3 separate regions of the Homo sapiens genome follow, and all the other regions are linked to region 2. Evidence: promoter capture Hi-C in 16 types of primary human blood cells and fetal thymus (Javierre and others, 2016). All regions are on one chromosome and are shown on one strand. Each heading gives the region's core, a stretch centred on a gene start or on the middle of the fragment in contact. The rest is flanking DNA. Distances are from core to core; before and after follow the strand shown.

Evidence for each region. The method cuts DNA at HindIII sites, captures the fragments that hold promoters and counts their contacts. A CHiCAGO score of 5 or more calls a contact.
Region 1: a fragment that was not itself captured here is called in contact with the fragment with the promoter of CENPU in region 2 in 2 of 17 cell types (neutrophils and M0 macrophages); the score reaches 7.8 in neutrophils.
Region 3: a contact is called between a fragment that was not itself captured here and the fragment with the promoter of CENPU in region 2, in 1 of 17 cell types (neutrophils). The highest score is 5.8, in neutrophils.

The regions. Positions count from the first base shown.
Region 1 is chr4:184,977,316-184,981,065 of GRCh38, forward strand. No RefSeq gene overlaps it. Among named protein-coding and RNA genes, the nearest start is that of LINC02437, 10 kb to the right of the region's middle. The HindIII fragment of the contact is 2,311 bases long and covers 1,283-3,593 here.
Region 2 is chr4:184,731,846-184,735,345 of GRCh38, forward strand. CENPU (centromere protein U) reads right to left here and starts at 2,251. Exons shown (of 13, transcript NM_024629.4): 1 at 2,171-2,251. The coding sequence starts at 2,217. RefSeq lists enhancers at 1,691-2,557, 1,708-1,827 and a silencer at 2,198-2,257. The HindIII fragment of the contact is 4,927 bases long and covers 1-3,500 here.
Region 3 is chr4:184,957,130-184,960,754 of GRCh38, forward strand. No RefSeq gene overlaps it. Among named protein-coding and RNA genes, the nearest start is that of MIR4455, 21 kb to the left of the region's middle. RefSeq lists a silencer at 401-564. The HindIII fragment of the contact is 2,716 bases long and covers 468-3,183 here.

The DNA.
Region 1 (3,750 bases), core at 1,188-3,687, 250 kb after region 2:
CCCAGTATTTTGGGAGACGCCGAGGCAGGAAGATCACTTGAGCTCAGGAGTTTGAGACCAGCCTGGCCAACACGAAGAAACCCTATCTCACCAAAAATACAAAAAATTAGCCAAGCATGGTGGCACATACCTGTGGTCCCAGTTACTTGGGAGGGAGGCTGAGGCAGGAGGATCACCTAAGCCTGGGAGGTGGAGGTTGCAGTGAGCTGAGATCGCACCACTGCACTCCAGGCTGGGGGACATTAAGACTCCGTCTCCAAAACAAATTAAAATAAATAAAATAAAATAATACATATATGGACTCTGTCAATATGTGGAAAAGTATGTATGAATAAAAAGAACAAAGACACATATTCGTTGATTACAACTGGGGAAAATTATGTTTATACAATGATAAGAATGAAAACAGTAGAGATAGGTAAATCGTTCAAGTTTTCAACTGAAAGAATTATTTGTGTTTAGGGAAGGTGTGAAGTGTAAATCTCTACAGAAAAAAAAGTTTCAAAATAGCAAATCTAATGGATGTGGGCTCTGTTAGGAACAGCATGGCCATGCTTTCAAACCTCCTTCAGGGCTGTCCTGGGCAACAGAGGAACGCTTTTGATCTGCTGTCTTGGCAAATTTCAAGTACACAATCCGTGATTATTAGCTACAGTCACCAGCTGAAGTGTTCTCAGCACACACACACACACACACACACACAAGGTAACTATGGGAGGTGATGGATATGTTAATTAGTTTGATCGTGTATATATTCACAAAGTGTATATATATATATGTATCAAAAGATCACATTGTATACACCAAATATATATGATTTGTATTTGTTAATCATACCTCAGTAAAGCTGGAAACATTTTTTTCAATTAAAATTGCCTCGAAAAGTAAAAATGAGAAGAATTATAAATATTTAGTAAATGTCAAGTGCTTTATTCATGGATAACAAAATATATTTATAGTGCAAAAAACAACAAGAAAGAACATAAGAAGTGAGTTCATGCTCTCAGCCCTCCCCCAGCTCCGCCCTCCCCGAGGTCCCAGTGTTCCGTCCTCTTTCTGTCTCTAACCTTCCACAGACCGAGTTCCCTGAACCCTTCTCTTAGCCTCGCCCTCTGCTCCTGGGAGACAGCCAACATGGATGGAGTCACGTCTGCTTATATCTTTAGCCAGGACTCACTAGAATGTTCTTATCCTTCTCAGGAAATAGGTTTTTTTCTTGTGCAATATTATTTTCTACTGCCCCCATCTCCAATTTGAAAAGTAGCAGGTGCTCATTATAAAAAGCTTCCAGTTTAAAAAATGTTGTAATATTATTTTAATCTTTTTTAGTGTTACATAAGAGCTGTACAAATCTTCAGGGCATATGTGATATTTTGACACATTGCTATATTGTGTAAAGGTCAAGTCGGGGAATTGGGTTATCCCTCACCTTAAATATTTATCTTTCCTTTATGCTGGGAACATTTCAATCATTCTCTTCTAGCTATTTTGAGTTGTGCAGTAGATTATTGTCAAATATGGTCACTCTACTGATCTATCGAACACTAGGTCTCATTTCTTCTATCTGACTGCATATTTGTACCCATTGATCAATGAGAGTTTATACATTTTCTGTATTATATTGGGGACCCGTCTGTTGTGTTCTGGGGCCTGCCCCATTCACAGCTGTCCCAAGGGGGTTTCTTACCCACAGTCTACTGAGCTGTGTGTCTGTTGACTCTGCCCCTGCCCTTGCCCGCTGGATTGACCAGGGCGGTCCCACAGTCACTCATGCTTTGTGGTGGGATGCAAGAGGCAGCAACAGTACTGCCCTCACTCACTTCTGCAAAACACTCGTGGCTGCTACCTTCTGCGTGCCAGGATTCCCAAAAGCCTCATGGACACTCTTTTAAAGCACTGCCTCCAAAGAAGGCCTTCTAAAAATACACGTGTGATTTTAAAATGTTCATGCACTTGGATCCCATGATTCTACTTCTGGAAATGTATCCAAAGGATATACTCATAGATATTCAAATAGAGACCTGTAAAAGGGACTTTCTGTGTGACATTATTACTTTTCTTGGGTCAGATTTCTTCTATGTCTATTTCTTGTTTCATGGCAAACTGTGGGTGAGAAGCCCGTCCGCATGGCTGTGAATGGAGCAGGCCCTGGAACTCAACAGATTGGTCCCCAAAATAATTCAGAAAATGTATACACTCTTGTTGATTAATACACAGTTAGATAGAAGGATCCAGAAGTAGCTTGGGTGCCAGCATCCTGTCAGCCCCAGGGCAGAGTGCCTGTCTCAAAGGCAGCAACCCCGGCTGGCGTGGCTGCAGCGTGGGCTCCTGTAAGGCTCTGCCCTGACTGCACTGCACTCAGGCCCTCTTGTCGGGAGCTGAGCGACGAGACACGCAGGACCGTCTCGCAGGACTGAGGGGTGCAGGAGAGCATTTGCCTACGACCCGCAGAGGGAAGGAACGAAGCAGAAGCCACAGAAGAGAAAAAAGGGAAGGGGAGGGTTTAGCTGGTGGGAGCAGAAGGAGAGAGAAAGAGAGAGAGAGAGAGAGAGACAACACTAGACTCCCAGCTTCATGAGGGAAGCGGCCAAGTGTGCCTTGTTCACGTCCACATGCCGGGAGATAAGCCGTGCCTGGCAGATGGAAGTCACTCCTTCAGAGTTTGTGGACTGATGGACAGACGGAAGAGAGAGCACAGAGCAGGCAGGGTGTCTGGAAGCCCCCCCGGGCCTGCAGCCTGCTGCTCCTGCAGATCTCTGAGGGGCTGCTGTTGCCATCATCCACATGGCCCCTTCCAGCCTCCTCTGCAGACAAGATTCCTTCCTGCCTTCCTTGTTGTCCCGCAGCCTCTTACGGTCAACCTCATCATGTAAGAGACCTGGATGGTTTTCTGGTTCCTGACAGCTCAGAGACCCCAACAGAGAAATGGTCAAGAAAGAACAAAGTAAAAGTCCTCCACGAGCCAGAGATGACCATTGTTTCCTCCTGAAAGCGTATTGTTCTGTGTTCTGCTTTTTAACACTAAACAAGTGAAATATTTCCACGCCACAAGTAGCCTTTCAAAATGCAATGTCAGTGGTTACATTTGGTTGCTCCATTCTTTAGGGTATCAGATGTTAGATGTTAGACATTCTGGTTTTTCTTGGAAGCTCGCTCTGTAAATAAATGATTCAACTTCTGGAATCATTCATGTGAAGACCAACATTCATTTGCATGTCTGCGCCCTGTGGTCCACACAGACCTGCACATGAATGTTTTAGCTGCTTTATTCCTGATTGCCAGACACCAGAAACAACCCAAATGCCCACCGATAGGAAAATGGGTCAACAAACTATAGGACAACACAATGGAATACTACTCACCAATAAAAGGAGCAAACAACCCATGAATGCAATACCATGGATGCATCGAAAAACATTTGCTAAATGACAGAAGCCAGGTGCAGATGGCCACACCTGTAATTCCATTTGTGTGACGTTCACAAAAGGCAAAACTACAAGCTGCAAAGCAGATCAGCGCTGCCAGGGGCTAGGGATTGCGGCAGGGGATTGACCACAAAGGGTAGCATGGGTGAACTTTTTGGAATGATGGGAAGCTTTTTTATTATGGGGGTGGTTACATGACTGTATACGTTTGGCAAAACTTATCCAGCTGTCTACCTTATAAGGATCAATTTTATTGTATGTAAAGTATACCCCACCTAAATCTGACCCGAGAAAAATAATAATGTAATGTAGAATATTCCTTTTA
Region 2 (3,500 bases), core at 1,001-3,500:
GCACAAGGACCTTCTGTATGCCCTTTACTCATGTGCTCTGTGTGTGTGTGTGTGTGTGTGTGTGTCTGGAGATACTGTGCACTTCCACCCCTAAATACTACAATATGTCTTTCCTAAGAGGGCATTATACTGCATATTCATGGTACAATTTCTAAAATCAAGAAATTTAACACTGATACCATAATCTAATCTACAGTCCATACCCAAATCACATCAATTGTCCTATAATGTCTTTTAAGATTGCCAGGCCAGCATTTTTAAAAAAACAAACAATAAAAAAGGAAAATATAAAATGAAGCATTGCACTGGATATACTATGTTCACAAGCCTTTTGTTTTATGTGTGGATGTGTGCACACGTGTACTAAGTGTGATGTAAAACATCATTACTGTGAATCACAGTTAAAAAAAAAAAGTTAGAAAACTGTTCAGAGCGGTGGTTCCCAGACTTGAGTGTCATCAAAATTCTCAAGAGGGCTTGTTGAACAGGTTGCTTGGCACCACCCCAGGAGTGTCTGATTCAGTCCCTCTGGGGTGAGGTCTGGGATTCTGCATTTCTAACAAGTTCACGATTTATTTATTTAATTCATGAAACCTAAGGAAGCAGGTAAGACAAGTATTGGTTTTATGGCAATTTTATAGATGATGATTCCGGGATTCAGAAAATTTAAGTGACTTATCAAGGGTCACATAGCCAGGTAACAGAAACCCAGCTACACACTAGACCACATAAACTTCTTAACCTAAACTCTTTGAGCTGTCTTGTCCTTTCTTGGGGGGGAAAAAAAGTCAAGGTTCCTCCTTGCCTTACGCTGGAGTCAAGGTGGGGCTTCTGAGAGACAGAAACCTCTGTGACAACCCACAGGTAAAATTTCTGGGCCAGGCGCGGTGGCTCATGCCTGTAATCTCAGCGCTTTGGGAACCCCAGGAGGGCGGATCACGAGGTGAGGAAATCAAGACCATCCTGGCCAACATGGTGAAACCCCGTCTTTACTAAAAATACAAAAATTAGCTGGACGTGGGGGCGAGCGCCTGTAATCCCAGCTCCTCTGGAGTCTGAGGCAGGAAAATCGCTTGAACCTGGGAGGCGGAGATTGCGCCACTGCACTCCAGCCTGGGCCACAGAGTGAGACTCCGTCTCAAAAAAAAAAAAAAAAAAAAATTCTGTTGTATGTGCGTAAGTGTGTTTTGGGAGGAGGCATGAACAGATTTCATGAGTCTCAAACCCAAAAATGTTAAAAGATAAAAATAAAAAAAGACAACAAAAACCACTAGCCTTTCAGATAAACTCTTTTCAGCTGACATTGAAGGCTGACATTCTCTTCTAATCCTTTTTTGCACTGGGGGAGTCTTCATTCTCCTCCACTGGCCACAGAAGTCTGGTCTCGGTTTCCCCACCCACCTGCGGTGTCCTGCTCCAGCTTTTCCACCCTAACCCCGCATCTACCAGCACCTCCTCCTCCAGGCAGCCTTCCCAGGCCCGGGGGAACTCCTGTTCTCTTCAGATCGTCTTGGCGTATGGCTTTGTGCACCGTCTGCAGCAAGCCGAGACCCTTCCCGCCAGATCCAGGCCGGGCCTTGGATGGCCATTCGCCAACGAATCAGCGACCAGCATTCTAGAGCGCGTTTTGCAACCGACCAAACGCTCGCTTTCTTTGGTAAACAAAAACCGCTCGAGCCATCCTGGAGAACCGCAAGCGGCAGCTCGGTCCCCCAGCCGGATTTATGCTCCAGTTTACGGTCTGTGGTTTGCAGTAAGAAAACACCAGGGTCTTCAAAATAAGAAAACTGATTCCCAGTCAGAGAATAAAACTCCACTAACAAAGTCTGGCAAACCGCAGGCAATACGTATTTGCTGAATATTTTGCTTTCAAGCTAGCACTTTGAGACTCACTACTTTGGACGGCACTCCCCCTCCCCACAAAACGACACGACACTGGCTGACGTCTCTCCCACCCGCCAGGCAGTGTTAGGCCCCGACAGGCCCGTGCAGGTGGGATCACTGTTATCCCCACTAGACTGAGGAGGAAGCCGGGGACCCGGGCGATTGGCCACTCGGGCGACCTCCACAGTGGAGCACCAACAGCGCCGGGAGGCGCAAACCACGGCAGGCGAGGAAGCAGTTCAAGCTGGTCTCCGGCCCCGCGCTCCCGAGGGTCGGCAGTACTTACCCCTCAGACCTGTGAGGCCGCGGCCGCCGCCGCCCCCGCGGGGCCATGGTGCCGCTCTCCGCTCTCGAGCGACTGGAAGCTCCCGCCAAGCCCCTCGCCGCTCCGAACAGCCAATCCGGGCCGAGCACGCGCGCGTGCGCAGGACTTCCTGAGCGGCCCCCGGGCTCCTCCCTGGCCTGGAGCGTGAGGGAAAACTGGGTCTGGTTATTACAGCGCAACGGAGCTGGAGTCCATGCCGCACAACCAGTTACCTACGGTCCAAAACATGCCAAAGTTTTCCGGGCTTTCGCGCCCACCCGCATCGCCAGTTTTCCGGCGCCAGAAAGCCCGGGAGCCACGTGGGACGGCCCCTTGTGGGGTGGGGAAAGGGGAGGAGCTAGTGTCCCTGAGTCGTGGGCAGGTAAGAGGGTGGGTGGAGACCCGTGTTCGCAGCTGTTGTCGCTGAGGCCGCAGTCGTCTTTCCAGGCCTACAGGATTTGGCTTCCAGCCCCTGCTGCCTTTATCAGCTGTCTGAGCTTAGCATGTTACTTTACCGCTATCCCAATACCTTCATTTGTAAATGGACAGGGTTCCTTTTGTTCTTTTATTTTGTTTGTGTTTAAAAATGTGTAATGCAGAAGAATGTAATTGAACCCTTACCTTACACCGCGTATAAAAATTAACGCAAAATGAATCAAAGACCTAACTATAAAGGCTAAAATTAAAACTCTTAGAAGAAAACAGAGCAAAAACTTCATAACATTGGACTTGGTATGATTTCTTGGATATGATACCAAAAGCAGTTTGGGATGATGAAAACGTTCTGGAAATAGTGGTGGATGGATGCACAAGGTGAAGGTACTTAATGCCACAATACTGTAAAGTTAAAAACGGTTAAAATGCTAAATTTTGTTATGTATATTTTACTACGACAAAAATATTACGTTTCATGCATATGAAAGAATATAACGTGTAATGTAAAGATAAAAACAAACATCCGTGTAACCAGCACTACATGGGGATATGGATCATTTTTATATATAACTCTTGGGTACCCCTCTGAATGGTATCCTCCTCCTCCAAAGAATAACCACTCTTCTGATTTTATGTGTATCATTCCTGTGGTTTTCTACCTTGATATAGCCCCAAATAATGTATTGATTATTGTATGTTTCTAAACTTTATATGATATTTGGTAGGTATGCTGCAAGTGCCCTTTCTTACTAAAGCTATTGCTTTTATTTTTTATTTATTTTATTTTTCCATAAATTATTGGGGTGCAGGTGCTATTTGGTTACATGAGTAAGTTCTTTTTTTTTTTTTTTTTTTTTTTTTGAGTTGGAGTTTTGCT
Region 3 (3,625 bases), core at 576-3,075, 220 kb after region 2:
TATACAACTCATGATAGTATAGAATCAGTGGGAACCCTGAGCTTGCTTTCCTGCAACTAGATGGTCCCATCTGGGGGTGACGGGAGACCGTGACAGATCATCAGGCACTAGATTCTCTTAAGGAGCACATAACCTAGATCCCTTGCATGCGCAGTTCACAAAAGGGTTCACTCTTCTTTGAGAATCTAATGCTGCCGCTGATCTGACAGAAGGCAGAGCTCAAGCGGTATGTGAGTGATGGGGAGTGGCTGTGAATACAGAGGAGGCTTCACTCGCTTGCCTGCTGCTCACCTCCTGCTCTGCAGCCTGGTTCCTAACCTCCTGGTTCTGGGTGTTGGAGACCCCTGCTATAAAGGAACACCTGCGGCTAGGCAATTTGTAAAGAAAAAAGTTTGAATTGGCTCACGATTCTACAGGCCATACAGGAAGCATGGCACCGACATCTGTGCCACTTGAGGGCCTGAGGAAGCTTACAAGCAATTGAGGGAGAAGGGGAAGGGGGAGCAGGTGCATCCTATGGTGAAAGCAGAGTGAGAGAGAAGCTGGAGGTGCCGCACTCTTTAAACAACTAGATCTCACACGAATTCACTCGCTCTTGCCAGGATAGCACCAAGCCATTCAAGAGAGATCAGCCCCTATGACGCAAACACCTCCCACTAGGCCCCACCTCCAACACTGGGGATCACATCATGAGACTTGGAGGGATACACATCCCGATGGAACAAGCGGCTGCTATGTGTGTGAGGATCTGGAGAAGCAAGAAGGGCCTTGCTCCCCTGGAGCTGACACTGCAGTGGGAGAGACAGCCGTAAATGTGCAGACAGACAGATGCATAGCACAGTGGTAGTGATAGCTATGTGTGCGGAATGAAATGGAGCGGAGGACGGAGAGGGACTGGAACAAGCAGCAGAGCTTTCACAGAGAATCCATCTTGCCCATCACTCATGTCCTACAGCACCCAACACATCACTGAGCAAGTTTATTAGGCCCCCGTGCTGCCCAACTTGCTTCCAGAGGCCTTGAAGGACACCAAAGAAGACGCATGGGATGCAGCTGGAGGCCAACCCTCAGAAAGCTCACCCTTTAGTTGGCAAGCCATGAGCACATAATTCTAGAAAGCGTGTAATTACATGCCCCGCGCTGTTGGTGTGGGGCTAATTCCAGGTGTGGCTGAAGGTTGCCAGAGGTGGCGACCATCTCAGCAGGAGGTGGGTAGGGAAGCCTCTGAGAAGAGGTGGCTCCTAGACATTGCTCTAAAGGCATGTTAATGTGAGGTGGAAACAGGCCCGGGTGCAGAGCAGCAGGCTTTCCCAAGACTTCATGGCTATTTATGAGGGTGGCTGAGATGTTTGGACCTAGAGAGGTTGGATACCCAGAGCTAGCCAGAGAAGCAGAGGAACACTGGGGGAAACAGACACACAAGCTCTCACCTCGCCTGTGCTGCACACTAATTTTAGAGCCTCAGGCATGTCATTTAATCTCTCTGTGCTTTAATGCCTTCCCCCTTAAAGGAGGGATAATAATTTATGTCAGCCTCTCCCCAGGGATGGTATAAGGGGAGAAAGGAGATAATAGCTGGGAACATGATTGGGATAATAAAGAGTAACAGGAATAAGCCTATTATTAAGTATTAATGTTATGATTTTGCAGCTCACAATTGGCAAGCTCCCTGAATAACTATACCACGAAGAATCTTGAAGCTGTGGCTTCTCTGTGGGCACTTTATCTTCAAACCCATCAGATTCCATAGATACTAAAACCCCGTGTTCGAGGTTTTATTTTCTACTATATGATTTGAATGTTCATTAACTGCTTAAACCTTGCAGCTCCTTCCAAGTGGCTCCTGAATACTGCTTGGGGTTGCTTGAGCACGACGTTGAATAGGGCCCCGGAGATACCCGCCCTGATGTAAGCTACACAGAAACGGGAACTACCGCACACTCTAAAGTCTTTCCCATATTTTGAGTGTGAAAGCAAATTGTCATTGCATTTTGGAATGAACCCAGGGCTCTGTGTCTCCAGCCAGGGTGCTGGGGCAGCGGTGAGTAGAGGCGGGTTGCAGGGATGGTCTTCCTTGAGCATCACTTTAGTTCATGGAAAATAATTTGAAAGATTATGATATTAAGTCAGATGTGTTTAACTCAGTGTCTCTGGCCTCTTTAGACACAAGCCTGTGTCTAAAAAGTAAATTATCCTTCTCTTTTCAGATGGAAGTGATGATGTCGTGAGCTCACACCAGGCTGCTTGCTGGAACTTCCGTGAATGCTCCAGCACGCTGCCCACGGTACTCTGGGACATCTCGCTTGGCTTCACTTTTTTATCTGTGTTGTCTCCGGCCTCTGTACCTTCATGACAGGTCTGCCCGGTGGGGCCCAGCTGATGCCCCCCACTGCCTCCCACCTGCAGCCTGGTGGCCAGGACATCCACCTCTCCCATCCCTGCAGCTTGGCTGAGATGATGAGCTGATGTAAGCACGTGGTGCTGAGCCTTGGGGCTAGCTGGAGGACCACACAGAGCGTAAGAGATGCCTGCACTAAAAGGGCTTGGCTGCCCTCACAATTGCTGTACTGCCCGCAGCAGGCTTCCCTCCATGGACACAGGCGCCACCACCCACACCCCACCAGGAAGAATCCCCAGGTAGCTCCACACCTTGGAATGAAGGCCAAGCAAGCTGCAGAGAGGAAAGCCTTACTTTCCCCAGTCTCAGTCCACTTCTTTTTGTACTCTGGGATTAAACTCTTTTCAGGATGACTAACAGTGGAAGCATCTATTTGTTCAGAAGGAAACAGCCACTCCGACCCACAGGTTCTGGTCTCTGCCGGCCGGTGCCAGTCAATAGAGTAACTGATGATGAATTTCACAAAGCCCAGTCCATTCCGTCTCAGATGCCAATAAGAATCCGTCCAGGCCAGGTGCAGTGGCTCGCGCCTGTCATCCCAGCACTTTGGTAGGCCAAGGCGGGAGGATCATTGGAGCCAGTAATTCGAGACCCGCCTGGGCAACGTAGGAAGACCCTGTTTCTACAAAAAGAAAAAGGAATCCGTCCAGGAGGACAAACGCTGTCAGCTCCAATTCTAGGAGGTACATGGAGTAGTCACATTCATAGAGACAAGACATAGATTGGTGGTTGTCAGGGCCTGGCGGGAAGGGGAGGGGGAATTAGGGTTTAGCAGGTACAGAGGAAGCTTCAGTTGGTTGGATGAAAAAGTTTTGGAGCTAGGGCACGGTGATGGCTGTACAAAAATGTGAGTGTGTATCAGGCCACAGAACTGCACACTTAAAAATGAATACAATGGGGACTTTTATCTTATGCACATTTTATCACAATTTTAGCAAATCAGTCCAGGTTGCACCATGCTGCATCTGGACTGTTCTTGTCACCATCTCTCTCCAGTGTGAGGCGAGATAGAGGCCAGATCTGGGGGCAGAGTCCAGCATTGGCTGCAGGCCTCCTGTGAGCAAGCTTAGACCAAAAGGCACACAAACATTTCCCAAGAGCAACAACAGTTTCCTGCTCAGGCCAAGTCTGCATGTGGGGAGAAGAACAAAATATTTCTCCGAACTCTGCAGGGTGCAGTTCAGCGGGCACTCTCAAATGCACTCAGGGCGTGCAGGGGGCCCCAGG